7 separate regions of the Homo sapiens genome follow, and all the other regions are linked to region 5. The links are contacts of gene promoters, found by promoter capture Hi-C in blood cells and fetal thymus (Javierre and others, 2016). All regions are on one chromosome and are shown on one strand. The core of a region is centred on a gene start or on the middle of the fragment in contact, and the rest is flanking DNA. Distances in the headings are between cores, read along the strand shown.

Region 1 (4,004 bases), core at 199-2,698, 850 kb after region 5:
TGAATATTTACTCCCAGCTTCTCACTTCATTTTCTTAACCATGTGTTTTAAATGGTAGAAGTTTTTAATTTGGATAAATCCAATTTCTTATTTTTTTCTTTTGTGATCTGTTCTTTTTGTGTCCTAAGGAATTGTTTTCTCAAAGATTGTAAAGTTTTTCTGTATGTTTTATTCTAGAAGTTTTCTAATTTGAGCTTTTACATTTAGGCCTAGGATCCATTTTGAATTAATTTGTGTATAGTATAAATAAAAGGCAAGGCTCCTTTTTTTCCTTTAAGAATTCTGTTATTTCAGCACCATTAGTTTAAAAGACTATACTTTCCATATAGAATTACTTTGATATCTTTGTCAAAAACTAATTAACAACATACGTATGGGTCTATTTCTGGAGTCTATTCTGTTCTATTGATCTACAGGTCTATGTTTACTACTACACTAACTTTATTATTACACCTTAAGTCTTGAAATAATATAATGTAACTCTCAAGATTTGTAGGATATTTTAAAAAAATTATTTGTCTATTCTAGGTCCTTTGCATTTTCAAATAAATTTATGAGTACGTTTGTAATATTTATCTTGTAGCTGCAACCTTCTTAAAATCAATTCTTACTCCTATAGTAGGTTTACCGTAGATGTCTCTGGATTTCCTAAATACATGATTACTTGATCTTTAAATAAAGACATACTTATCGTTTGAACCAGAAATTTGTGAAAAAGGCCTTTTTTTTCCTTTTAGTTATGAAAACCCAACAAGGTTCTGTAGCACTACAACTCACTAGCTCATTTCATAGAAGGGCCTCATGTGTCCAGGGGCCCCTCAAAAGGGGAGCCATCAGCTGCCCTGTCCTTTTCCAAGTTCTAAAAAAGCAGCTGCGTGTAGAGTCTATATTTATATAATGACTTAACAGGACAGGTGGTTGGGACATTTTGCCCAACTTTAATCCCGTCTTTCAAGTAAAAATAACTTTTTTTCCTTTTTAAAGAAGTATATTAATTTTTTGTGTTTTACAAAAGAAATAATACAGAAAAGGTATTAAGAATGAGAAAAGCCTACTCTCTTGTGCTCCTTTCCTGATACACCTCTTCCACTCATTTTAGTGGAGAGAAAACGGAGAATATTGGTAGGAGGACAGAAGGAGGTAGACAGGCAGAAGGAGGTGAATCCTGGGAGCCAAGGGCAGAGAGAGGCAAGTCCCCAGAGAAGTGGGAATGGCCAACAGCTCCCTGAGAAGATACCTTCCGTCCTTCCTGGGCAAGCAGGGGAAGTCTCAAGAATATACAGAGAAGGAAGAGTGGCAGAGCCCAGGCTGGGGATGTTAAAAGGGACTCCCGGTGAGGATGGGGGCGGGCCCGAAAGCACCACCTGACTCCGGGCTGCAGGAGGGGGCGTGGGACGGGGGCGGAGCCTCTGGCGATGACAACAGCCACACGTGATCGGCCAACACTGAGTCTTACCTCGTTGTGGCGTCAGAACCGCCGTCGCTCGCTCCCTTCTCGGCAGTGGTACCTGTTCCCGGTGTCCCTGAGGACGTGCGGGCCAGGTACGGCCCCGAAAGTAGGAAGCGGAGGGGGAGCAGGTAAGGGACCCGGAGGGGGTCCCTGGGGTTGGTGTGGGGGAGCAGCCCCGGCCTGCGGATGCCCCATCCCCGGGCAGCAGCGCGGAGACGCAGCCGGTCCACGATGCAGCCCCGGGGCCCCGCCGCGGGACCGCGAGCCTTGTGTGAGCGGAGGGGTGCCCGGCCCCGCGGGAGCCGGCGATCCTGAGGCTACGACCTTTCGGAAGCACCTGCCTCCGTCACCAGCGCAAGCTTTTCCAACACCCCTGCTCCGCCCTTCTTGATGCAGAAAATGGTGGTCAGCTTGGGGGGCTGGGCGGCTGAGGCGGGGGGCGAGAGCGGCTAGGAGGGCCCGGGCCCGGCGTGGGGAAGGGGCCGGGTGGCGGCGGGTCCTCTCTAGCGTTCCGCTGCAGCAGCCCCCACTCTTCCCACCCCGGCCGTCTGCAGGTTTGCGGGGCCAAGTGTTGCGGCGACGCACCTCACGTCGAGAATCGGGAGGAGGAGACTGCAAGGATAGGCCCAGGTCAGTGCGAGGGACGGTGGTGGGGAGGGGGTCAGAACATGAGGAAAGCCCAGTCTGAGACCCCAATCCGTGCCTTCACCCCCACACTTAGCAATCCCCCACCCCCACCCCTTCTTCGTCCTCCATTTTGGTGCCTGCAGAGGCCTGGAGATGGATCTGCAGAGAAGATGGTGGGCTTTGCGGGAGAGAAGGGCACAGACTGGCTCCCCTCGCCCCCCCGAGGGTACATGGGGCCTCTCTGGTGGAAAAAAAATGAAATTTAAAAAAGGCCTTTGAAATCCAGGGCTCTGAATTTTGAAAGGTGGGTAGTCGGGCCTCTGTCCTCGGTGCTGATCAGTTCACCAAGAATTGAGTCCATTTTCTCTCTGTCTCCTAGGAGTAATGGAGTCCAAAGAGGAACGAGCGTTAAACAATCTCATCGTGGAAAATGTCAACCAGGAAAATGATGAAAAAGATGAAAAGGAGCAAGTTGCTAATAAAGGGGAGCCCTTGGCCCTACCTTTGAATGTTAGTGAATACTGTGTGCCTAGAGGAAACCGTAGGCGGTTCCGCGTTAGGCAGCCCATCCTGCAGTATAGATGGGACATAATGCATAGGCTTGGAGAGCCACAGGCAAGGATGAGAGAGGAGAATATGGAAAGGATTGGGGAGGAGGTGAGACAGCTGATGGAAAAGCTGAGGGAAAAGCAGTTGAGTCATAGTTTGCGGGCAGTCAGCACTGATCCCCCTCACCATGACCATCACGATGAGTTTTGCCTTATGCCCTGAATCCTGATGGTTTCCCTGAAGTTAATAGGGAGACCCCTGCTTCCTAAACTTACACATTTGTGGTGTACCTTTGTCGTAAACGTTTTGATGTTACCTATTTCTTGTGGGTCTCCTATTACCAGCTTCTAAATGAATGTTGTTTTTGACCCAGTTTGTAAGTTTCTGTCAGCAGGAGAGTTTTACCTATTGCATGGAAAGATGCTCATTATATATTGTGAAGTTAATAAAACAGTTTTAAAAAGCATTCTCTGCATTCTTTTTTACTTTAAATCTTAAACATGCACCTAAACAGTCATATATATATATATATATATATATATATATATATATATATATACACACACACACATATATATAGTAAATAGTGTTTATCTCTGTGGTAGAATTAAGAGGGAGTTTATTCTTGCTTACCCATAATTTCTTATTTTTCAAAATGGAACACGTATTACTGATAAAAAGCAATGTGACCACCTTATAAAAGCGATGTGAGCACTTACTAAACACTTGTGACAGAATCTCAATTTTAGCTTGCCTCTGGGTTCTCTTTTTAGAAATGTAAGAGACACATCTCTTTGAAGATAATAATATTTATCAGTAAGATGAAGACAATCACCTCCCAGGCTTGTTGTATGGACCAGATAAGGTAATGAGGTTGTGAGCTTTCTCCCAAGTTCTTGTTCTTACTGACATGCATGACCCAACACTTTAGATATTCCCTTCTGTTATTAGAGGAAATTTCCAAGGTGAGGTCTTCCCTATATTCACAAGTCCAGTGGACTAAGGAGTAGGTACTTTCATTCCTCTGCTGCTGTGCTCTATTCTCATCATCTCCCCTGGGTATTACTCTGCTAGGTTTTGCTCCCTACACTGGCTCCTACCAATGCAGATGTTCAGAAATCCTGAAAGTGAGAAAGTCCCACCAATTTCTCTGGAATTTCCAGTGGATTGAATCCTTGCTCTACTCTACAAAAGAGTGGACAAATCCCCTCTCCCTGCTTTGTTTCATGGAAAAACATTGTCTGTCTAGATCTTTCCTTACAGGTAGTTCTCTCCCAGGAAACCTCCTCCTCAGTATAGCAGACTATAAGATGTGTGAGGAAACACAGCCCACTTTCAATCTGAGATAGTCCCACCTCATACCAGCTCACATTTACCT
Region 2 (3,664 bases), core at 663-3,162, 750 kb before region 5:
GAAACCTTGTGAAATATTCCACAGTGTCAGGAAACATCCCTACTCCCAATTCTGAATGTAGACAAAGGGTACTTGAACACTGTGTTTCTGCTTAGAAAATCGAAAGCAACTACCAGACCTTATTACCTTCCAAGAATTATTTTAAAGTCTTAGAAAACTCTGTCTCCTGTGGTCGATGGTAACAGCCTGCATACAAACAAAATGAATGATTTTTAATGATATATCAATATATACTGAGTCTTGCCACAAAAAGTAAAAAGGCAGGCCACCCATAGTTTTGATTGCATAGTCTCTGTGTTGTTTGTTCAGATTAACTCTACCTCATAGTGATTTTTCTCTTATTCTGTATCTCACTGGCCCTGGTAGATACAGTCTTACTCTTACTATCCTGCCTTGCTTATATAATGCATCAGAACTATTTTCTAGTAATTTCAAGACTATATTTTGTAAGATCCTTGATGATAAGGATTATGCCTGCTACTTCTTTTGTATCTCCACTGGCACAGTCACAGTCTCATGGTACTTACACAATGTACTTATTAACTTGCAGCACATAGGCATGTATGCACACACACCCTTGCTATGTGATCTCTTGTTTTGTTTTTGTTTTATTGTAAAAGTACTTTGCATCATGGTGAATAAGGGGCTTTAATCTGAACCAGTTGGCTCATGTGAGACTTATTTAGGATAAGTTAATGTCATCAGCTCAGCATGCTTGGCCTTAACATGCTTTACCATATTTGCTGATAGACACACACATTAAAAATAAGTATTTTTCCTACCTCTGAAAGGAAAGCAATCCTGAAATGAAACAGTCACTATTGGAAAGCTACAAAATAATATAGTATCAATATCTAACTCTCATTATCATATTGATTTGCCTGCAGTATGCTTCATAAACATCTCTATAAATTAATACTTATACTAGTCCACCAGGGAGAGGATGGGATTGCCTTTTGAAACTAGAATTATGGGGCTAGAGGCACATAAAAACATGTGGTATAGCAGAAAGGGCACCATACTGTAACTCAGGAGAAAGGATTCTATTCCCAGGTGGGCAAGTAATCTTGATCAAGTCACATTCCTTCCCTGGGCTTCAGTTTTCTCATCTGTGACTTAAGGAAGTTTACATTAGATTTATTCATGCAATATATATTTAGTGCCTCCCCAGCCTTCTAGGTGTTAGAAATACAGCAAAACAAAACAAAACAAAACAAAACAAAACAAAGGAAAAAAAGAAAAAAAAAAATCCCTGTCCACCTGCAGCTGATAAAAGATAGAAGGACAATGCATTTCTAAAATATCTGAAAATGATTATTGGAGGATACTGATAAGCACTATGAAGCAAAATAAGAAGGTTAATGGGATACAGAGTAAAAGGTAGGAAGAAGAGTAAATGAAGAAACAGGGAGATGTACTAGGGAAGGCCTCTCTGAGAAAGCGATATTTGAGTGAAGGCCTGAATACGGAGAAGATTTATTTGCAAACACTTACAGGAGAGTAATTCAGACAGAAGGAACAGAAAATATAAATTCTCTGAGGTGGCAACAAGCTTGGTCTCTTCAAATAACAGGAAGAAGATCAGTATGTCTACAGTGCAGTGAGCAAGGAGCAGAGTAGCAAGAGATGGTGATGAAGCTGTATGTCAGATAGTGCAGGGACTTGTAGACCAGGGTGAGAGGTTTGGATTCTATTCTATACATCATGGAAAATATTTAGAGAATTTTGATGCAGGAACGACATCATCTGATTTACATTTTAAAAGTACTGCAGTAAGAGCAAGAGTGGAGAGTGAACAGAGACCACTGCAGGAAGAGATATTTGTTCACTTGCCTATGGTGGTAGTGAAGACAAAGAAGATTGAACAGATTTGAGATATGTTTAAGAGGCAGAGTCAACAGGACCTCACTCACTAGATATTGAGTATAAGCAGGAAAACAGGAAAGAAAGATGACTCTTGGGGCTTGTACCTGAGTAATAATTGTCTAATGGTTCTTGTTTCAGACATTTTCACCTATGTTATAAATAGGATTGGCCTATACTTTTCAGATTCTGCCTTTTCCTGGTTTTATGATGGTTATGCTAGTCTCATAAAGTAAATTAAGTAGCTTTTTTCCCTTTTCTGAAATTGTTAATGTAATTTGGAACATTTAATTCTTGACAGTTAGAGAAAATTTTCCAATAAAATCATCTAATCACATAAGCCTGGAGTCTTTGGGCGGGAGATGGGAGGTTGATAATTTTTATTACCAATTCAATATGCTTAAGCTTATTGGTTTATGAAGGTTTTCTAATTTTTCTTGAGATAATGTTGATCAATTATACATTCTATTAATATGTCCATATCATTTGTTTTCTATTTTATTGGCATAAAGTTGGTTGCTTCATATTAATCTCTTCTGATTTATTCAAATCTCTGTTATATCTATCATATTACCTTTTCATTCCTAATATTACTTGCATGTGTCTTTTTCTCCCTTGTGTCAATAAGCCTCATGATACGGTCTTAGAAGTAGAAGGCTGCAAAGAAAATGATTTAAGGAAGATCTGAAAATATATCCATTTAATAGCATGTTCCCAGTCATTCCCATTATTTCTTTCTGTATAGAGAGCTCATGAATTAGGTGTGCACGTGAATATGTAGAGTGCTGTGGGAGTGAAGAGAGCTACAAAATTTTTAAAAACTATTAGGAACAAAAGAGAAACAAAAACCTCAAGACACCACTATATCAGGTTCTAGAAATTCAAGTTTGCTGTACTGACCATACACAAAAAGGAAACTCAGGTATTTAAAATACATTAGGAAGAGAACACATGGACACAGGGAGGGGAACATCACACACTGGTGCCTGTCAGGGGACAGGGGGCTAGGGGAGGGATAGCATTAGAAGAAATACCTAATGTAGATGATAGGTTGATGGGTGCAGCAAGCCACCATGCCATGTGTATACCTATGTAATAAACCTGCACATTCTGCACATGTACCACAGAACTTAAAGAATAATTTAGAGAGGAGCCAAGATGGACGAATAGGAACAGCTCCAGTCTACAGTTCCCAGCACGAGCAACGCAGAAGACAGGTGATTTCTGCATTTCCATCCTAGGCACCGGGTTCGTCTCACAAGAGAGTGCCAGACAGTGGGCGCAGGTCAGTGGGTGCGCGCACCGTGAGCGAGCCGAAGCATGGCGAGGCATTGCCTCACTCGGGAAGCGCAAGGGGTCAGGGAGTTCCCTTTCCTAGTCAAAGACAGGGGTGACGGACGGCACCTGGAAAATCAGGCCACTCCCAACCGAATACTGCGCTTTTCCGACAGGCTTAAAAAATGGTGCAGCATGAGATTATATTCCCCACCTGGCTCGGAGGGTCCTACAACCACGGAGTCTCGCTGATTGCTAGCACAGCAGTCTGAGATCAAACTGCAAGGCGTCAGCGAGGCTGGCGGAGGGGCGCCCACCATTACCCAGGCTTGCTTAGGTAAACAAAGCAGCCAGGAAGCTCGAACTGGGTGGAGCCCACCACAGCTCAAGGAGGCCTGCCTGCCTGCCTGCCTCTGTAGGCTCCACCTCTAGGGGCAGGGCACAGACAAACAAAAAGACAGCAGTAACCTCTGCAGACTTAAATGTCCCTGTCTGACAGCTTTGAAGAGAGCAGTGGTTCTCCCAG
Region 3 (3,921 bases), core at 1,385-3,884, 940 kb after region 5:
AAGAGCCATAGAGTGGCAATCCTAACTTTGAACAACACTAGAGGATCTTACTTTTTTTATCCCTCAATATTCTAAAAATTAAAGTGTACTTGAGATGTAGAAAAACAGTGTATAGAAAAACAGCCCCATTCTTGCTGAGTCTCTTTTACCATCCTCAGCTTGTCATCAAGTTACAAAAGTCAAATATTCTGCATCTCCAGATGATAAGGTCCAATAGAAAATGGCCCAGGCTGGATTCCCCCACCCCCAAGATATTCAGCAGGAGTTAGCCTTGGTACTTAACATCTCTAAGCCCCAGTGACCTCATCTGTAAAAGTGGGATAACAATACAGATTTTATAGGTTGTTCTAAGAATAAAATGAGATCCTGGATGTGAAACTGCTGACAGGGGTGATGAATTCTGAGTTCCTCAGGCTGTGACCTTCAGGCATGTTTTGCTTTGCACAGTGAATAACTTTGCCACTGTCCCTACCACTCCTATAATCATCAGTCTTATTTTAAGGTCTCATACTTTTCTTTTTTAATTACTTGCCCATCAAAGTCAGATTTATCTTGATATTGTTTATTGTTTACGGTTATGACACATTATATATATACACACACACACATATGTATATAGTTACGTACACACACACCAATGGCACTGATTTTGGTACACATCAGAATTACTTAAGAGAGTTTGTTAAAAATGGAGATTCTGGAGCCCCACTCTGTGAGTCTGGACGATAGGTCCTACATTTTTAAATGCCCCTGCCTGCCCCCAAGGTGTTTTTATACAGATGGTAGACTCACTCTGAAAAACACTAGAACATACATTCTTAAAATATCAAACATTGAATTCTGGGTATGATCATTCTTTTTTGGTCAGGGACAAGAAAAAAACTGTCAAAGACAACTGAGATTTTGAGTCCAGGTAGCCGGAGGAGGAAAAGTAATACTTACAAAAATAAGGACTGGAATGAAAAAGGAAGATGATGGAATACAGACTGCTTTTTGAACTGCTTTATGCATTTCATATTATGAAAAGAGTATTTTTCCTAAAATAGGTGAATTGCCATGCTGACCGTAACTTTTAGGCTGAGACAAAACAATATTCAATTAGAATTCTAATTTCCATTAGAAACTGGTAAGTGTAAACCCCAAAAGGCTTACAGAAAAAGTAAATCACAAAAATACAAGCTTGTAAAGCAGTGTTCACATTAACCTCAGCGAAAACTTTTAGGATTCAAGGTATGAGGCAAAAGTCATAATGGTTGTCAGGTTCAGGAGTTTGGAAGCGCATATAGTGCCTCATCTGCTGTTCCCTAGTCTTTCTCTTGATTTCCATCATCTGCCCTACAAACCTTTCTACATCATCTCTCGCTTCATTGTGCTCAATATGCCTATTAGGTATGGCCCATCGAAAATTAGGGACAAGTCGCCTAACTCGCCCCCGCCTGATATTTCCTCCAGGCTTCTGGCCTTCACCCCCTCCCAAATGGCGGGATTCTTCTTCATTCTGCGTGGGGGCCTGCTCCCCTCCTTCGTTTTCTTGTTGGGCATTTTCCCCGTTGAGATTGTTTGCCGCTAGTTCCTCTTTGGACTCCATTACTCCTAGGAGACAAGAGAGAGAAAATGGGCTGAATTCTTGGTGGACTGATAAGCACTGAGGACAGAGGCCCTACTAGGCACCTTTTAAAATTCAGAGCCCTGGACTTGACTTTATACTCTAACATTTCATTTTTTTCCACCTGAGAAGCCAGTATGCCCTGTGGGGTGCCCTCAATCCGAGCCCCTCCCTTCCGCAAAGCCCACCATTTTCCCTGTAGATCCATCTCCAGGCTTCCGCAGGCAGCAAAATGGAGGACGAGGATGGCGTGTGGGAAGGGGAGGGTTGCATGGGGTAGAGGGGGGCGAGGGTGAAGGCATGGATTAGGGTCTCAGACTGGGCTTTCCTCACGTTCCGGCCCCCGCCTCACCACCGACCCTCGCACCGACCTGGGCCTATCCTTGCAGTCTCCTCCTCCGGATTCTTGACGCGAGGTGCGCCGCCGCGACACTTAGCCCCGCAGACCTGCAGACTGCCGGGGTGGGGGAAGTGGGGGCTGCTGCAGCAGAACGCTAGCTAGGAACTACCGCCATCCGGCCCCTCCCCCGCCCCGCCCCGAGGCCCTGGCCCTGGCCCTGGCCCTGGCCCTCCTCGCCACCCTCGCCCCCCGCCTCAGCCGCCCCGCCCCGCAAGCTGACCACCATTTTCTGCACCAAGAAGTGCGGGGCAGGGGTGTCGGAAAAGCTTGCGCTGATGGCGTAGGCAGGTGTTTCCGAAGGGTCGTAGCCCCAGGACCGCCGGCTCCCTCCGGGCCGGGCACCTCTCCGCTCAAGGAAGGCTCGCGGGCCCGCCGCGGGGCCCGGGGGCTGCATCGCGGACCGATTGCTTCTCCGCACGGCTCCCCCGGGGTGGGCATCCGCAGGCCGGAGCCACTCCCTCACACCAACCCCAGGGACCCCCCGCCGGGTTCCTTACCTGCTCCCCCTCCGCTTCCTAATTTCGGGGCCGCCCCTGGCCCACACGTCCTCAGGGCCACCGGGAGCAGGTACCACCGCCGAGAATGGAACGAGCCACGACGGCTCTGACGCCAGAGCGAGACAACACTCAGTGTTGGCCGGTCACGTGGGGCTGTTGTCATCGCCAACGGCTCCGCCCCCGTCCCACGCCCCCTCCTGCAGCCCGGAGTCAGGCGGGGCTTTCGGGTCAGCCCCTATCCTCATCCGGAGTCTCTTTTAGTATCTCCAGACTGGCCGGCCCTTCCACTCTCCTGTCTTTGTGTATTCTTGGGACTTCCTCTGCCTCCCCAAGAGGGAAGCTGTCTTCTCAGGGAGCTGTTGGCCATTCCCACTTCTGTGGGGACTTGCCTCTCCCTGTCCTGGGCTCCCAGGATTTTCCCCACATCTCCCAACCAGGACGCGGGCGCAGAATTTAAAGGGGTGCAAAATTCCTCAGCAGTCAAGAAAAATAACATTTTAATGCAACATTTTAAAAAACAATTATTGCAAGAAAATTTATGATGAGCAAGATGTCAAAAATTTAAATAAAGAGAGCATCAGTCCCGCCCACCCCAATGGCAAACTGTGGTACTTGTTACCAATGCTCATCCTTTTCTCCACACCAGAACGTTTGGGGGGGGACAGGAAATGAGTCAAGGACAGTGGATTTTTTTTCTAATTCTTCTTAATACCTTTCTGTTCTGTTCCTTTTTTTGGGGGGTGGGGCAGAGTCTCGCTCTGTCGCCCAGGCTGGAGTGCAGTGGCGCGATCTCGGCTCACTGCAAGCTCCGCCTCCCGGGCTCACGCCATTCTCCTGCCTCAGCCTCCCGAGTAGCTGGGACTACAGGCGCCCGCCACCACGCCCGGCTAATTTTTTGTATTTTTAGTAGAGACGGGGTTTCACCGTGTTAGCCAGGATGGTCTGGATTTCCTGACCTCGTGATCCGCCCGCCTCGGCCTCCCAAAGTGCTGGGATTACAGGCGTGAGCGCCCGGCCCCTTTTTTGTTTAAGAAACAGTCTTTATAGTTTAACTTTATCTTAACTTTAATGGAAAATTTCGAACATTTGGAAAAATGGAATAGTATAATGCAAACCCCATGTACTAGTCCTCACTCAGATTCCACAGTTAACAACTCATGGCCAATCTTATTTCGTCTTTATCTTACCCGCTTCCCAACCTTAAAATTATTTCTGAAGCAAATTCTAGACATAATATCACTTTAGGCATAAATATTTCAAAGTATGTATCTACAAGATAAGGGTTTTCTTCTTTTTAGCATATAACCACAATACTGTTGTCACATTTAATAATTCACAATTCCTTAATATCATTTTATGTCTAATCTGTGTTCAAATACCCAATTGTATTATAGTTTTTTTTAACAGTTTGTTTGAAT
Region 4 (3,834 bases), core at 890-3,389, 630 kb after region 5:
AGCGAGACACAGGAGAGTAGAGCTGTGGACCTATTGTAAGCCCCACCCCTGAGGGCAGAGCAGAACATATGCTTGGTTAAGTGAAGATTACAACCAAGAGTTTTGAAGGGAGAGGACCTGGGCTGTGCAACCTGTTTCTCCTTCCAAACCCACCAACTAGATGAGACATTCCTGCGATAGAGGAGTGAGCGTATCAAGAGGCTAGAAGTGTTTTGGGTATCGATGTCTCTCCACATGGAAGAAAATATTAAGAATGGTGGATAAGAATTCCCCAAAATGAGCCAATGTATGTTTCAATTGACTAGATTTCTGCCTACTAAATGATTACATTATTATAGGCCTGCCTCCCTGAAATAACTGAGATATCTTAAATGACATTTCTTGGTGTTCCTACATCATTTACACACATGATTATAGACAGTCTCTTAGTCTTCTGCCACAGATAGCTAACTGCTTAGTGTGTTGTGTAAGTTTTACACATCATCCTCAGAAGGTTAGCTCATCACCAGGAGCCCCTAGGATACCTCCCTGCAGCTCTGTGTAGTGATGATACTCAACTACTGTCACTTTTAAAGCAGACAATATTCCTGCCAATGGGGAGATGCTTTGTTTCACCAAGCTGGGCAGAATTCCACAAATCACCCTTGTCTGAGGCTAGTTCCACTAATTAGTAAGCTTTCTCAGGAGGTAGCCTGAAGAGTGGAAGAGTGAAGTTTTTATTTATTTATTTATTTATTTATTTATTTATTTATTTATTTATTTATTTATTTGAGAAAGGCAAGGGGACAGAGGGCTGTGCAGAAGCATTTCTGATGTGGAGGACAAGCCTGAGCACCACGGTTGCCATAGAAACCAGAAGTCATTACTGTGACCTTGATGACTTTTAATAGAGACCCCTGTGGGCTGGTGAGAATAGCAGGGTCCCGCCTTCAGGTGTTTGGGACTCAACTGAGGGTGTGAGTGCCCCACAGTGGGGGCTGAAGTGCCTTGGGATGTGGGGAGACGAAGGGATCCCAGATCTAAGTCCCCTCACTCCCAGTTTGAAACAAGTTGCTCTCACTGTTTCATGAGGGAGAGAGCTAGGACCCTCCTGGCCCCAGTGAGTGGGGTGTCCTGCTCCTGGTGTCCTGGAGCTACTTTCTATGTAAAGGTGGGACGTGGGAGGATGAGACAAGTAAGGACTCTCTGAGCCCAGTGTCCCCCTCTGTAAAATGGGGATAATTATGCCAACCCGCAGGATTGCTGCAAGCTGCAGTGATAACACAGGTGCAAGCCCATAGCCCTGTGGTTACTGCACGATCAGGAATGCCTGTGTGAATTCAGGCCTCTTCTTAGTCCTTTACAGATTTGTTGTTAGGAGATAGAGGAGGAAAGGAGGAGAAAAAGGCCCTGGTGAGAAACCCATTGTATCTTCTGGTTGTAATGATCACTACCCAATTGTATCAGTGTCACTGGTCACTGACCCAGTGCCTAAGATGGTTCCTGGCACACTGTTACTCTAAGAAAGCACAGTGATTGCTGGATTCTCTCTGTCCCTGTGCAGATCTTCATCAGGTTATTGAACTCATAACAGGTGTATGAAGGAGATGGGCTTTGAGGATCTGGGTCGTGATGGCTGCTGAAGCTTCTACTTCAGATTTGAAGGGCAGCAGTCCTAAGGAGACCCCCAACACTTCCATCCCTGGTGGGATATGATGCCTGGCTCAAGTGAGCTCATAGATCTGGACAGAAGCATGTTGTGGAATACCTCTGTGAGGTTTATAATATAGTCTAAAAGCAGAGAAACTCCTTTGATCCCATCTTTGGAGAAGAGGTTTAGCATGTGGAATTTCCTTTCATCAGCAGCTATGTGCTTTGAAGCCGCCCTTGAGGCCCATGTTTAAAATGCCTTTCGTTGTTACAAAGCAATGAATAATTCATTTGGGGAATCAACTTGATGTTTAACATGTATTTGAAATAAATTTACATATGTTTTCTGCCTGTATAAATAATGATCAGTGATTCCCATGTATCTCTCAGATGGGCATTGAAATACACAGTTGGTCAGAAGGTCTTCCAAGCAACTGGAGATTGTAATATGCATTTTTCAATGGTAACCATGTTATTATCCATTCTGTAATACATTTTTTAAGAAGGCAAAAATGTACAAAGTATTAGTTAAAACTGTCAAAATGTCAGATACAAAAGTTCAATATTTTGAAAAATAATAATTTCCATATAATTTGCTCTATTATAATGATACCCAGTCATGTCCCCTAAAATAACCAGCTAGGCCTAAATATTATTATCATTGTTTCCCAGAACATAAGATTTTCAGTTCTGTACTACTAGGACTCTCTATCCCTCCTATTGCCCTGTCCCCAGACAAACACAATACTTTGTCACTATAGATTAAGTTTTATGTCCTAGACATTTATTTAAATGGAATTGTAGAAATGTTTTTCTGCGTTTGTTTTTGATTTTTGGTTTGGCTTCTTTCATTCACCCAATTTATTTTTAGATGTATCCATTTTGTTGCACATATCAATAGTTCATTCTTTTTTATTGCTGAATAGTATTCCAGTATATGGCTATATCATAAATTTTTTATCCATTCACCTGTTGTTGGATATTTTAATTATTTCCAATTAGGATCTCTTGTAAACAAAGCTTCTATGAATATTTGTGAATAAGTCTTTCCATGGAAATAGGCTTTCTTTCTCTAATAAATACTTAGGAGTGCAATGGCTGGATCATGTGGTAGATGTAAGATTAACATTGTAAGAAACTGCCTGTTTCCAAGTGTTTGTACCATTTTTCATTACCACCAGTAATGTATCACTGTTTCATCCTCCACAACCTCGACAGAGCTTGGTATAATCTGTCTTTTTAATTTTTTTAATTCTCACAGGAGTTTAGTAGGATCTCATTGAAATTTTCATTTACATTTCCCTTATAACGAGTGATGCTGAGCATCATTTCCTGTGCTTACATGATATTTGTATGTCTTCTTTAGTGGAATGTCTATTCAAATATTTTGCCTGTTTCTTTACTGGTGTGTGTTTTCTTCTTACTAAGATTTTAAACATATTCTGGATACAAGTCCTTTATTAAATATATAATTTTCAAACATTTTACCCCGGTCAGCAGCTTACTTGTCTATTTTTTCAACCATGTAGTTGGAAAGCTAAAGTTTTTAACTTTGAGGAAGTCCAATTTTTCAATTTCTTTGCTTATAGATTGTGGTTTTGTTGTCTCATCTATGAAATCTTCACCTGACCCATTGTCAAAAAGATTTTCTCCTGTTTTTTTTTTTTCTGCTAGAAGTTTTATAGCATCAAATTTTATATTTAGATCTCAGGTCCATTTTGAATAGACTTTTGTATATAGTGTGATATCTGAGTCACAGTTTATATTTGTGCATGTCAATATTCACTTGTCCCAGCACCATTTGTTGAAACAATAATCCTTTCTCCACTGAATCACCATTGCATCTTTGTCAAACTCAGTTGTCCATATACTTGTGGGTCTATAGCTGGACTCTTTATTCTGTTCCTTTGATCTACTAATCCATCTTGATGCCAATAGCACACTGTCTGGATTACTGTATGTTTGTAAGGAGTCTTGAAATCAGGTAGTGTTTGTCTTCTAATTTTGTTCTTTATCAAAGTTGTACTTCATAGTTGATATGGTTTGGAACTGTGTCCCTACCCAAATCTCATGTCAAATTGTAATCCCCAATGTTGGATATGAGGACTGGTGGGAGGTGATTGGATCGTGAGAGTGGATTTCTCCCTTTGGTTCTGTTCTCATAATAGAATTCTCATAAGATCTGGTTGTTTACAAGTGTGTAGC
Region 5 (3,782 bases), core at 976-3,475:
TTTGTTTATTTCTACCGGCCCTAGAGACACTCTTGTTGGCTCGTCTTTCCTCTGCCAACACTTTTGCTTTGCATCAGGATTTTTCTCTTTCCTCGCCTCTGAAACTCGACTTCTCACAGCTCTACCCCTTACACTGACACTTTCTAATAGTTTGACAGCTAGAAATAATGGAGAAAATTAAGTAAAAAGTCTTTCCGTGCTACCTCTGTTATTTTTGTTTTTAAATTTGGCCAAGCCCAGACATGTGTGCTATCGTTGGGTGTTGGGGGAAAAAATAAAAGACAAGATGATTTGTCTGCAATTCAAACCCAAGAGGGTTTCCTAGGTGTGGAGTGATGGGTTCTGAAATGCCAAATGAGAAAGAAGGTCAGGGAGCTACAAAAGAGGTACAGAGGTAGGGACAAGGCAGTGCTTCATTTACCTTCAGCAAACCTGGTGATTTACCTTCTCCTTCAGTCCCTTCACCATCACCAATCCTTCCCCTGAAAAAACCATTGTGGACTGCCTGATGATAAGTTGGGAAGTGAGAGTGGGTAGGTGTGGAGCAAGAATAACAACATCCTGGGTACCGTACATTCTGAAGGAACAGAGGGAATTCCTGTTTTGTTTTAACCTGGGACAGAGGGGATTGGTTTGTTCTCTCCAGGCTGAGGCAGTAATTCCTGACTCTAGGGACTGCTGATATGGAAATTACTACTACCACTCTGGGTGGAGTCAGATGAGTATATTAAAGAGTCTCATTGTACTGTCCTAAAATAAGCAAGATCTTTGCTAATATCCAAGCTTTACAGAACGGTGGGATGAGGTGAAGGCCCTGTACCTTTATCCCCAGTGGTCTTCAGTACTATAGGAAGTAATGGGGCCTGTGTGGCACAGTGGAGGGCAATGAGTGAGCTGGTTATGCCAATTCCTACTATAGTCACCTCCTTGGCTGCCAGCCTTCAAGGGAGAGATCTTTGCCTTAGTGGGTTCTGCCCTTCTGCTTCTGAAGAGAACCTAGTCTTTCTGTATGGGCATTCAGGCAATTCTTGGGGTGGGGAGTTGGGGGAGAGAGAGCACTTGAAAAGAATTTATGGTGGCCTTTTTCTCAGTGATATTTGAGAAATACCAAGACACATCTGAATGTATCTGAGTTTAAGTCTTGGCTCTATTTGTTATTAGCTCTGTGACCGTGGGCAAGTTATTGATTTATATGCAATCTGACTAATCTGAGTTTTCTTAGCTGCTTTAAGCAGACAAAGAGGACAGGAAAGGGTAATACACTTAAGAACCAGCAAAGGGCTATTGTGAGGATGAAGCAATAACAACAAAATGGGTTTAAAGCACTTATCATAGTGCGTGGTCCATAGAACTGCAAACGTTGGATTTTGCTTATTTTAGGACAGTACAAAGAGACTCTTTAATATACTCTTCTGACTCCAGCCAGAGTGGTAGTAATTTCCATATCAGCAGTCCCTAGAATCAGGTATTACAGCCTCAGCCTGGAGAGAACAGGGCAATCCCCTCTATCCCAGGTGAAATGATTATTATCATTTATTATTTATTAGCCAGAGGTCTTAGGTGAGATCAAATTCAATCATTATAATTTATATTTCAATATACTGCTTAACTTCATGATAGGCAATGTTCTAGGTGCTCCTCACATGTGAAATTTTAATATTTTTACTGCAACTCTGGAGGTAAGTACTATTATTATACCAATTCTACAGATGAAAAAGCCAAGGAATAGCATGCTTGAATCACTTGCCCAAGATGCCATGTTTAGATAGTGGTACAGTGGGGATTCGAACGCGGGAGCTCAGGTTTCAAAGTCTGTGCTCTTTACATATGCAGCTAAAGAGTCAGACAAGAACCAAAAGGAGATGGAGAATAGAGGGTAGAAAGGGCACAGGTTCAAGGTGAAAGGTCAGAAACTGCAAATTCGGAGTTTGGGTTGGTCTAGCAGCTTAAAGGCGTCATCATGAACTGTTCACCTAAGTAAGTTAAGCTCCTGTTTGAGAATGACTGATAAGCTTGCAAGCCAACTTACAAACAAACTGGGGAAATGTTCCAATAGATGACTAAGTCTTTTAGGTCTTTTTACCTGTGTTTTTCGGTCTCTATACCAGATTAGTCGCCTGGCTCTCCCAAACAGACCGGCCAACTGACGTAGTCGCGAAACGGTTAATGTCGAGGCGGGGGCGGGGGAGGCGGAAATAAAGAGAGCGGAAGCAAAGAGGATTGTGGGAGCTCCGTTGTGCGTCGCTTAAGTGAGGGCGGCGGATGGGCGAAGGTCCGGTGACTGCGACTGTCGCTGCTTTCTGAGGCCACAGGAAAGGGGCCGTCGGTCGCCGCCATGACAGCGAGCGAGGCGGAGGTTTGTAGCACTTCTTATGGGCTGAGGGCGTAGACACATCCTGCTTCCAGCCTAGCAGGCAAACGGGAACGGAAGTGATAGGGGATCAGAAGTTGCGAGGGGATGAGGAGTAGGGGAAACTGACAAGCGGACGGACCCGGCGGCGAGAATTGATGGCGTAGCTGTAGGATTAAGGGGCGTGTCAACTGTGTTGTGTGTGTTGACACTGAGATGTGTGAATCCCCTCATTATTTTTAGCTGGGGACAGGCGGGGTCTATGGGGGAGGGGGCGGACGGATGAATGGAGGATAAAATCAGGGCGAAAACGTGTTGTCTGCTGGGCACCAGTACATCTGAGTCACATCTCAGCAGGATGATTTTATTGGAAAGATCTAGGTCCCTGGTTTCAGATTCTGCTATTGATGCGTTGATTGATTTCCCTTACCAAAATACCAAGTACCTGCTCTGTGCTGGGTACTGCACTAGAGGCTCCGGATGAGGAAAGGAATTAGGCTTTTTCCTCGACATTTACAGCCTGCCGGTTGCTATCTGCATTTGGAGACAGGCTATTACAATACAAGGAGACAGAGATAGATCCTGTGTTATGAAAATCTATTGGGTGCCACCGAACTCATCTGGGAGTTGAGATCTGGGACGGCTCTTTGATGCGGTGATTTAACATATATTTTGAAGACAAAATAAGCAGGGCAAAAACGAAGTGCAATTTTCCTCCAAGCACCTTCCCTCCCTGTTGAGGTGAACTGGAGAACTGAGTAGCATTTAAGGCCCAAAATTAGTGTATTTCTTTTTTTTTTTCTTTCTTTCTTTCTTTTTTTTTTTTTTGATAAGGAGTCTCTCTACTTCTGTCGCCCAGGCTGGAATGCAGTGGCGTGATCTCCGCTCACTGCAACCTCCGTCTGCCGGGTTCAAGTGATTCTCCTGCCTCAGCCTCCCGGGTTGCTGGGATTAGAGGCACCCACCACCACTCCCGGCTAATTTTTATATTTTTATATTTTTAGTAGAGACGGGGTTTTACCATGTTGGCCAGGTTGGCCTCGAACTCCTGACCTCAAGTGATCCGCCTGCCTCGGCCTCCCAAAGTGCTGGTATTACAGGCATGAGCCACCGCGCCCGGTCCCCACAACTAGTTTATTTCTGGTAAGAGCATTTGCCCATCACAATGGGACTTCCAGGCGCCTCTGGAAGAATCAGTCTTACGTGAGTGCAAAGCCTGCAAGCTCTGGGTAGGACTACGATGGAGGTGCTAGTTACTTGGTTTTCCAGCAAACTCGGTTCACAGCAGGGAATTGTGCACCCACCAGAAATCCTAAGCAATATTTCTCTGAACAAGAAAAGAAGCCTCTTTGTTTACCAGAGAAACAACAGTATAGCAGTCTAAGTCAGTGGCTCTCAAACTTTCCTGTGAATCAGAATCAGATGGAGCGTT
Region 6 (3,785 bases), core at 17-2,516, 680 kb after region 5:
GAGGGACTGCATGAAACCACCCAGGGGTCAGCACCACAGCTTCCAGAGAGGAAGGATCCTAACACAGCTGGGTTTGGGGTAAAAGTTGAGTCACAGTCTCACTCAGCAAAGAACTGCAGGAACAATCAGCACATGTGAATTAAAACACTTGCGAAATACCTTCCCTGTGCAATTAAAAATATTAGAAGAAAAGGAAGGAAAATATACACAAACCCAACAATTCTAACACAAAATCAGATCAAGTTCTAAATAAGATTCACCCCTAAGCCAATAAGGGATTTGGGTGGTAGACTGGCATATCTTTTACCAGCATAGCCCAGATTAGGTTCTGGATTAGGCCTTGAAGGGTTACAGTGAGCATGAAAGACAGATAATTTGGCCCAGACAAATGGGAAGTTGTTTCATATCAGGAAACACTGAGACATTGTTTTAGGCCAGTTAGCTCCAGAGAAACTCTAAGACTTTGAACACGCTGGGAAAAAGCATTTGAAAACAGTATCTACAGGTTGTTTGTGCTCCCTATAGCGTATAAACTGAGAAAATGGATATGTCTGTTTTAGTAAGTCTGCAAGAGTACACATGACAAGGAGGCCATGCAGCTCCCACTGTTGAAATGTGATTGTGTGTTTGTTCTCCTCATGTTTCTTCATTTTTTTTCCTTTTTTTCCATGAGGTAGCCAGGCATCTATAGAAAAAACATGCTACAAAACAATACCATTCTCACTTACAGATATATGCATATGTAATAAAAGTATAGGGAAATGTCTTTAAAATCTAAAACCCGAATTCTGCATAGTGGTTACCTCTGAGAAAGAAGGAGGCTTGCAATCAGAGAAGTCTTCAAAGTGAGTTTCAACTGCATATATAATATTAGGTATGTCAACATGAGAACAGGGATGTCTCTTACATTCTATAATTTTTGTATTTCTGAAATATTTCATAACAACTGTTTCAATGAAGCTTACTTCTGACTTTTAAAAAGAACCATACTAATTTAGAAATTGTGGAAAACATAGTTAAGTCAAGAGATAAAGAATTAAGTACCGACCCACCGCTCATTAATTTTGAAGAATGTATCCTTTTTTGTGCAGTTCCTCCCGTTTTATTCTCTACGCAGTCATATTTAATGTATGAGTTTCATTTATCTGGAGACTCAACATTTCCTAAACATCATAAAACCAGTAATTAAATGTGCCCCAATTTTCTCCTCACTTTACTGATGCCAATGCCCACGTCCTTAACCATTAGGTATACAATCTTTTTCTGTGTAAGGACAGAGACCAACACAGGGGAAGTGACTCCCCATGGTCCTGTACACGAGGACAGATCTGGTATTGGGGGCCAAGGTCTCCTGATTTCAGTCCATTGCACAGCAGACCCATCTTCATGTTCTGTTATTCTGTGCTGTCTCCTTTCTGGCCCACAGTGGGAAGCTGCTATTTCAGCATCCAAATAGAAGTTTAAAAAGAAGAGAAGAACACAACAAATAAAAAGTAATGAGGCTATAATTTGCTTCCTTATTTCCACCATCCTCAGTATCTCATCTTAGAAAGAAATAGCACCAAAGCTTATACGTCATATAAATATGTATGCATTTCTTTTTCTGATGGTTCAAATCCATTGATCTCTTTGAGATGTTGATGTTTAAGTCATCTCTTGTGGGAGGGAGAACATAAGGGAGATTATACATATATTTGTTGAAGTATTAGGTACCATGTGCTTTATTTACGTTTGCTCATTCCTCCTCTTGGCTCTCTGAAGTAAATGTCATTATGCCCATTTTATAGGTTAGCAAGGTCAGGTTCAATAAGGGTAACTCACTGCTAGAGGGTCATATTCAGCTATCAAGAGGCAGGAATGGGGTATTACACAAAATACTCATTTATATATATTATTTCCCAAAGTTATCAGATTATATGTATGTTTCAGCAATTTTTCTTTCTCACTCAGCATGGTAGCCTAGGATATTAGTTTTCAGTCCTTTAGTTATTGTAATCTGGCATAGTTTTGAAAATTTAATGGGTATACAATTGTTTTTTAATGTGAATTATCTGTTAATATTATTTTCTCTATTCATTAGTAAGACTTCATTCCATATCAAGGATGTAGTGTTAAGGATTTAATATAAAAGTAACCACTGAAACAAAACAATAACCATGCTAACTACTAAATAAATAGGAAGAGGAAATCAAACACATGACCTAGTGAAAGGCTATATAATTTCCTTATATTTATAGACAATACTACAGAACTGAACTTAAATGACCAAAGACTTTGATCATATTGTGGCAAGTCAATTCTCCCTGACAATCACATAGGCAGGCCTGCATGACAGTCACACAGACAGGCCTGCATAGCACCCCAGTTACACAGACAAATTTCCACAGCGCTGCCTTAACATTGAGCAAATAGTTAAACCTAGGGAAATTGTTGCCCAGACATCAAAGCTAGAAATGACACATATGGTCAGTAGGAGCCTTGTGTGGGCTTCTCCCTTGCTGGAGCAAGCCAAAATAATAGACACAGTTTTACAATAGGACCCATCTCGGGTCGACAAAATCTGAGAGAAGTCAAGGTAACAGAGGCAGCTGTTTGAACAGATTCATTAGAGAGTCTAAGGCAGCTCTCTGGACCAAGCTGTAAAGGAGACAAGATAGAAACAATCACTCTGGTACGACAGTAGACAGTCCTTGAAGGTACTGGGGCCCTTTTAATCAGACTTAGCAAGGATTTTTTTGCCTCTGACCTTCTAGTTGAAACAAAATTAGTTACCAATAGACTTAGGCGAATGCCGTACTGCACGTAGGGACATAACCCCAACCTATATAAGCCTTAAGAAAATTTAACACCTTGAGTTGGTCTGGTGGAATTATCTCTGGCCTCCTCCCTGTATCCAGTTACAGTAATAAATTCTCTTCTTTCCTAGTTTGTCTGCTTCTTGTTATTGGGCCTCGAGAAAATGCAGCCGGACCTGGCTTGGTTCCAGGAACAACAAGAATAAAGGTAAATGGACTTAATTCACCTATTAAAGTATTTGTAAATTTCCCATTGAAGCAAAATCCAAAATTATGCTTTTTCATGAGATATACCTTAAACAAATGAATTCAGGTAGGTTAACAGTTTAAAAATAAGTAAATATATACCAAGCAATTGACCATATCAAGAAAGCAGGAGTTATAATCTTGATATTTGAGAGAGTAGAATTGAGACCAAAATGGATTTAAAGAGGTAAAAAGGCACAGTTGATAATGCTAAAGGCTACAATTCACAAGGAAAATGTGAGATACTAATACTTATATACCAAAGCACACAATACTTCCCTGAATTCAAAAATGTTCAAGTGGAGAAAAAAATTAATAATTATAGAGAAGACCTAAACAACCAAGTCCCAAGAGTAGAGCTTATAAATAGCCACAGTGAACTATGAAGCCTGATATTAAGCAATACACATGCTTTTCAAATGAGCATGGAACATTCATGAAAATGGATTCTATCTGAGGCTGTTAACAAAATCTTGGGCCCAATGAGAATAGATTAAAATTGCAGAATTTGATGAGGATAATGATGAAAGCAACATATCAAAATCTAGCTAGAGTAGCTGTCAGAAGATATTATAAAGCATTAAATATCTACATGAATAAAAAAGAAAATTAAATATTCAATTTTAAAATCCTGATTTAAAAACCCACAAAGTAAATAAAATAATGCAGATGGAAAAAAATAGTTAAGGGCAAAAGCAGAAATGAATGAGCTAAGCAATAACATCCTTGTTAAAGATCAAAGTG
Region 7 (3,996 bases), core at 156-2,655, 610 kb after region 5:
ATGAGGCCCACCCACACTGGGGAGGGCAATCTGCTTTACTTAGTCTGCCAATTTAAATGTAAATTTCATCCAAAAACACCCTCACAGAAACATCCAAAATAACGTTTGACCAAATATCTGGGCATTATGACCCAGCCAAGTTGACACATAAAATTAGTCATCACAGCATACATTTGCCAGTGTTTCCACTATCAGCTTTTATAAGTCATTGGTAATATACTGAAACCAGGGAGAAAATGTCACTGAGACATTTTTCTAAAGATCATCTCCAGAAAAATGAATTACTAAAATAAAATAGTTTTGTAGCTCTTGACTTTGTGTGTGGGTAGATTTTAATTGTGGAGTTTTCTTTTTATACTCCCAAACAAATCTACCTTGATGAATTCTTGGATACTTGGGTGATGAGAAAAAGAGGGAGAGAGCATGTATGTATGTGGGTATCTAGGTATGTATGAAGGTGTATATTGCTGAAGCTGCCGGGAATGTTTATTGTGAGAAAAAATTGAGGTTAATTACTGTGCATCATGTCAGTCCTATTCAGTTCTTAGCACATGTTAGGAATAAGATCGAGGAGGTGGTTGGTTTTTTGTTTTGTTTTGTTTTTTCCTCCCAGCTTTCCCTGGCCAGCATGGTTACCATGGTGACTCAGTGATTGCTATGGGATTTGGTGCAGAATGAAAATCTATTTACGATTCTTGCTTGAATCATTTACTACTGTGATAGTTGTCAGGGTTGCTTTTATAATTCTGTCACTTTGTTTAGATTTATTAATTGACATTTGACTGTTAGATATATATGGTTTTTTTTTTTTTTTTTTTTTTTGAGACAGAGTTTCGCTCTTGTCGCCCAGGCTGGAGTGCAATGGCGCGATCTTGGCTCACTGCAACCTCCGCCTCCTAGGTTCAAATTATTCTCCTGCCTCAGCCTCCTGAGTAGCTGGGATTACAAGCACCCGCCACCATGCCCAGTGAATTTTTGTATGTTTAGTAGAGACGGGGTTTCCCCATGTTGGCCAGGCTGGTCTCGAACTACTGACTGCAGGTGATCCACCTGTCTCGGCCTCCCAAAGTGCTGGGATTACAGGTGTGAGCCACCACACCCAGCTATTTATTTATATTACTGTGATTCATAGATTCCTGTTTTGCTCAAAGATATAACATTTGTTATTATAAATATTTATTTGATGCTCAAATTATTCCAGAATTGGCCAGTGGAAGCCCCTCAAGTTGACCTCAGTCCATTTGATGCCTTCCTAGAATTCCTGGAGCATGTATTTTGCTCTCTGAGCCTATCTCCCCATAGGTAAAAAGGATGCCAACCTCAGAGCATTGCTCTGATGATTTGAAGAGTGAAAGTCTGAAAATTACAACCTACCACATGTGTAGCATCTAGTAGGCCTTAAACAAATTTTAGTTGTCCATTCCCACTTGCCTTCATTCTGTCATTGTAATGCTACTGACATTAACATAGTAGCACAGTGGCTCATGCCTGTAATCCCAGCACTTTGGGAGGCTGAGGTGGGTAGATCACCTGAGGTCAGGAGTTCGAGACCAGCCTGGCCAACATGGTGAAGCCCCAACTCTACTAAAAATACAACAACAACAACAACAAAACCCAATTAGCCAGACATGGTGGTGCACTCCTGTAATCCAAGCTACTTGGAAGGTTGAGGTGGGAAGATTGCTTGAACCTGGGAGGCAGAGGTTGCAGTGAGCCAATATCATGCCACTGCACTCCAGCCTAGTTGACAGAATGAGACTCTGTCTCAAAAACAAAAACAAAAACAAAAACAAAAACAAAAGCATAATAGCATGATTACCAGAGAGAATATCTGGAAATGTAACACCAAGTAGTGATAATATTATTAAACTTTATTTTTTAAAAAATATTTCATTAACAAAGATTCTACATATTTAAGTTGTACAATGTGAAGATTTGACATACCTATACATTATGTAATGATTATCACAATCAAATTATAACACATCCATCACCACTCATGCTTTATTCTAGATTCCCAGAACTTGTTCATCTTAAAACTGAAAATTTATGCCCTTTGATCAACACCTTCCTATTTCCCTGACTTTCTAGCCTCTGGCAACCACTGCTCTATTCAGCTTCTATGAGTTTGACCTTTTAAGATTTTACATGTAAGTGAGATCATGCAATATTTTTCTTTCTGTGTCTGACTTATTTCACTGCTAATGTCTTCTAGGTTCATCCATGTTGTTGCAAATGGCGGTATTTCCTTCTTGTTTATGGCCGAATAATATATATATGTATATATTATGTGACATATTATATATACACACACACACACCACATTTTTTATATCCATTCATTCACTGATAAACAGTTACGTTTATTCCATATTTTGGCTATTTTGAGTAATGCTGTAATGAACATGGGAATGCAGATATTCCTTCAAGATACTGATTTCATTTCCTTTGAATATATACCTTGAAATGGGATTGCTGTATTGTATGGTAGTTCAATTTTTAATTTTTTGAAGAATCTCCATACTGTTTTCCATAATGGCTGTACCAAGTTACTTTCCCAGCAACAGTGTACAAAAGTTCCCTTTTCTTTACATACTTGGTAACACCTGTTACCTCTTGTCTTTTTGATAATAGCCATCCTTACAGCTGTGTGGTGATATCTCACTGTGATTTTGATTTGCATTTCCTTATGATTAGTGATATTGAGCACCTTTTCCTACACTATACTGTTGGCCATTTTTATATCTTCTTTGGAAAGTACCAATTCAGGTTCTTTGCTATTTTTTATTGAGTTGTTTGGGTTTTTTTTTTTTTTCCTATTGCATGGTGTGAGTTCCTTACATGTTTTGGATGTTAACTCTTTATCAGCTATGTGGTTTGCAGATATTCTCTCTCATCCCATAGGTTGCCTTTTCATTTTGTTGTTTCCTTTGCCATGCAGAAATTTTTTAGTTTGATGTAATTCTACTTGTTTATTTTTGCTTTAGTTGCCTTTGCTTTTGGAGTCATATCAAAAAAAAATTGCCAAGACCCATGTCAAGGAGCTTTTTCCCTATGTCATCTTCTGGGAGGTTTACGGATTCAGATTTTATGTTTAAGTCTTTAATGCATTTGAATTAATTTTTGAATATGGTATGAAACAATGGTCCAATTTCATTTTTTTTTGCATGTGGATATTCAGTTTTCCCAACACTATTTATTGAAGACACATTCCTTTCATCATTGTGTATTCTTGGTGCCCTTGTCAAAGATTAGTTGACCCTGTATGTGTGAACTTATTTCTCGGCTATACTCTGTTCTATTAGTCTATGTGACTGTTTTTATTATGCCAGTACCATGCTGTTTTGATTACTATATCTTTGTCCTATAGTTTGCAATCAGGGAATGTGATGCTTCCTGCTTTGTTCTTCTTTCTCAAGGTTGCTTTTGCTATTCAGGGTCTTTTGTGGTTTCTTATAAATTTTAGGATTGTGTTTTCTTTTTCTATGAAAAAAGTCATGGGAGTTTTGATAGGGATTGCATCACCTCCTTGGTCAAATTATCCAATGTGAAATAGATCTTTCACCTACTTGGTTAGATTTAATCCTAAGTATTTTATTCTTTCTGATTCTATCGTAAATGGGATTGACTTCTTTTTCACATAGTTTGTTGTTGGAGTATAGAAACACAGCTGATTTTTCTATGTTCATTTTGTATCCACAGTTTTACTGAATTCATTCATCAATTCCAACAGTTTTTGGTGGAGTCTTTAGGGTTTTATACGTAGAAAATCATGTCATGTGCAAACAGATAATTTAACTTATTCTTTTCTGATTTAGATGCTTTTCATTTCATTTTCTTGCCTAATTTCTCTGGCTAGGATGTCCAGTGTTAAGTTGAATAGACGTGGTGAGAGTGGACATCCTTACTTTGGTACTGATCTTAAAGGAAGCTTTCAGCTTTTCACCATTGAATATAATGTTAGCTGTGGTCTTGTCAGATATGGGTTTTGTGTCTG

The links. The method cuts DNA at HindIII sites, captures the fragments that hold promoters and counts their contacts. A CHiCAGO score of 5 or more calls a contact.
Region 1: a contact is called between the fragment with the promoter of BEX2 here and the fragment with the promoter of SLC25A53 in region 5, in 3 of 17 cell types (activated CD4 T cells, total CD4 T cells and fetal thymus). The highest score is 10.4, in activated CD4 T cells.
Region 2: a fragment that was not itself captured here is called in contact with the fragment with the promoter of SLC25A53 in region 5 in 1 of 17 cell types (naive CD4 T cells); the score reaches 5.5 in naive CD4 T cells.
Region 3: a contact is called between the fragment with the promoter of BEX4 here and the fragment with the promoter of SLC25A53 in region 5, in 8 of 17 cell types (monocytes, total B cells, M0 macrophages and 5 more). The highest score is 10.6, in monocytes.
Region 4: a contact is called between a fragment that was not itself captured here and the fragment with the promoter of SLC25A53 in region 5, in 1 of 17 cell types (total B cells). The highest score is 7.2, in total B cells.
Region 6: a contact is called between a fragment that was not itself captured here and the fragment with the promoter of SLC25A53 in region 5, in 2 of 17 cell types (fetal thymus and naive CD4 T cells). The highest score is 5.4, in fetal thymus.
Region 7: a contact is called between a fragment that was not itself captured here and the fragment with the promoter of SLC25A53 in region 5, in 5 of 17 cell types (total B cells, naive CD8 T cells, fetal thymus and 2 more). The highest score is 8.2, in total B cells.

What each region holds. Positions count from the first base shown.
Region 1 is chrX:103,308,434-103,312,437 of GRCh38, reverse strand. It overlaps BEX2 (brain expressed X-linked 2), which reads left to right and starts at 1,448. Exons shown (of 3, transcript NM_032621.4): 1 at 1,448-1,578; 2 at 2,005-2,080; 3 at 2,457-3,092. The coding sequence starts at 2,462. The coding sequence ends at 2,848. RefSeq lists a silencer at 1,623-1,712. The HindIII fragment of the contact is 10,238 bases long and covers 1-1,811 here.
Region 2 is chrX:104,909,723-104,913,386 of GRCh38, reverse strand. All of the region lies in intron 2 of IL1RAPL2 (interleukin 1 receptor accessory protein like 2), which reads right to left. Among named protein-coding and RNA genes, the nearest start is that of TEX13A, 310 kb to the left of the region's middle. The HindIII fragment of the contact is 716 bases long and covers 1,555-2,270 here.
Region 3 is chrX:103,213,821-103,217,741 of GRCh38, reverse strand. It overlaps BEX4 (brain expressed X-linked 4), which reads right to left and starts at 2,634. Exons shown (of 3, transcript NM_001080425.4): 1 at 2,504-2,634; 2 at 1,978-2,060; 3 at 496-1,593. The coding sequence starts at 1,588. The coding sequence ends at 1,226. The HindIII fragment of the contact is 8,756 bases long and covers 2,275-3,921 here.
Region 4 is chrX:103,521,848-103,525,681 of GRCh38, reverse strand. No RefSeq gene overlaps it. Among named protein-coding and RNA genes, the nearest start is that of RAB40A, 4.3 kb to the right of the region's middle. The HindIII fragment of the contact is 1,025 bases long and covers 1,627-2,651 here.
Region 5 is chrX:104,155,452-104,159,233 of GRCh38, reverse strand. SLC25A53 (solute carrier family 25 member 53) reads left to right here and starts at 2,225. Exons shown (of 2, transcript NM_001012755.5): 1 at 2,225-2,356. It also overlaps a transcript of FAM199X not described here. RefSeq lists an enhancer at 2,152-2,451. The HindIII fragment of the contact is 6,927 bases long and covers 2,015-3,782 here.
Region 6 is chrX:103,477,354-103,481,138 of GRCh38, reverse strand. All of the region lies in intron 4 of LL0XNC01-250H12.3 (a long non-coding RNA gene), which reads right to left. Among named protein-coding and RNA genes, the nearest start is that of RAB40A, 40 kb to the left of the region's middle. The HindIII fragment of the contact is 607 bases long and covers 963-1,569 here.
Region 7 is chrX:103,546,741-103,550,736 of GRCh38, reverse strand. The region is part of intron 1 of LINC02589 (long intergenic non-protein coding RNA 2589); the gene reads left to right. Among named protein-coding and RNA genes, the nearest start is that of LINC02589, 6.2 kb to the left of the region's middle. The HindIII fragment of the contact is 5,054 bases long and covers 1-3,932 here.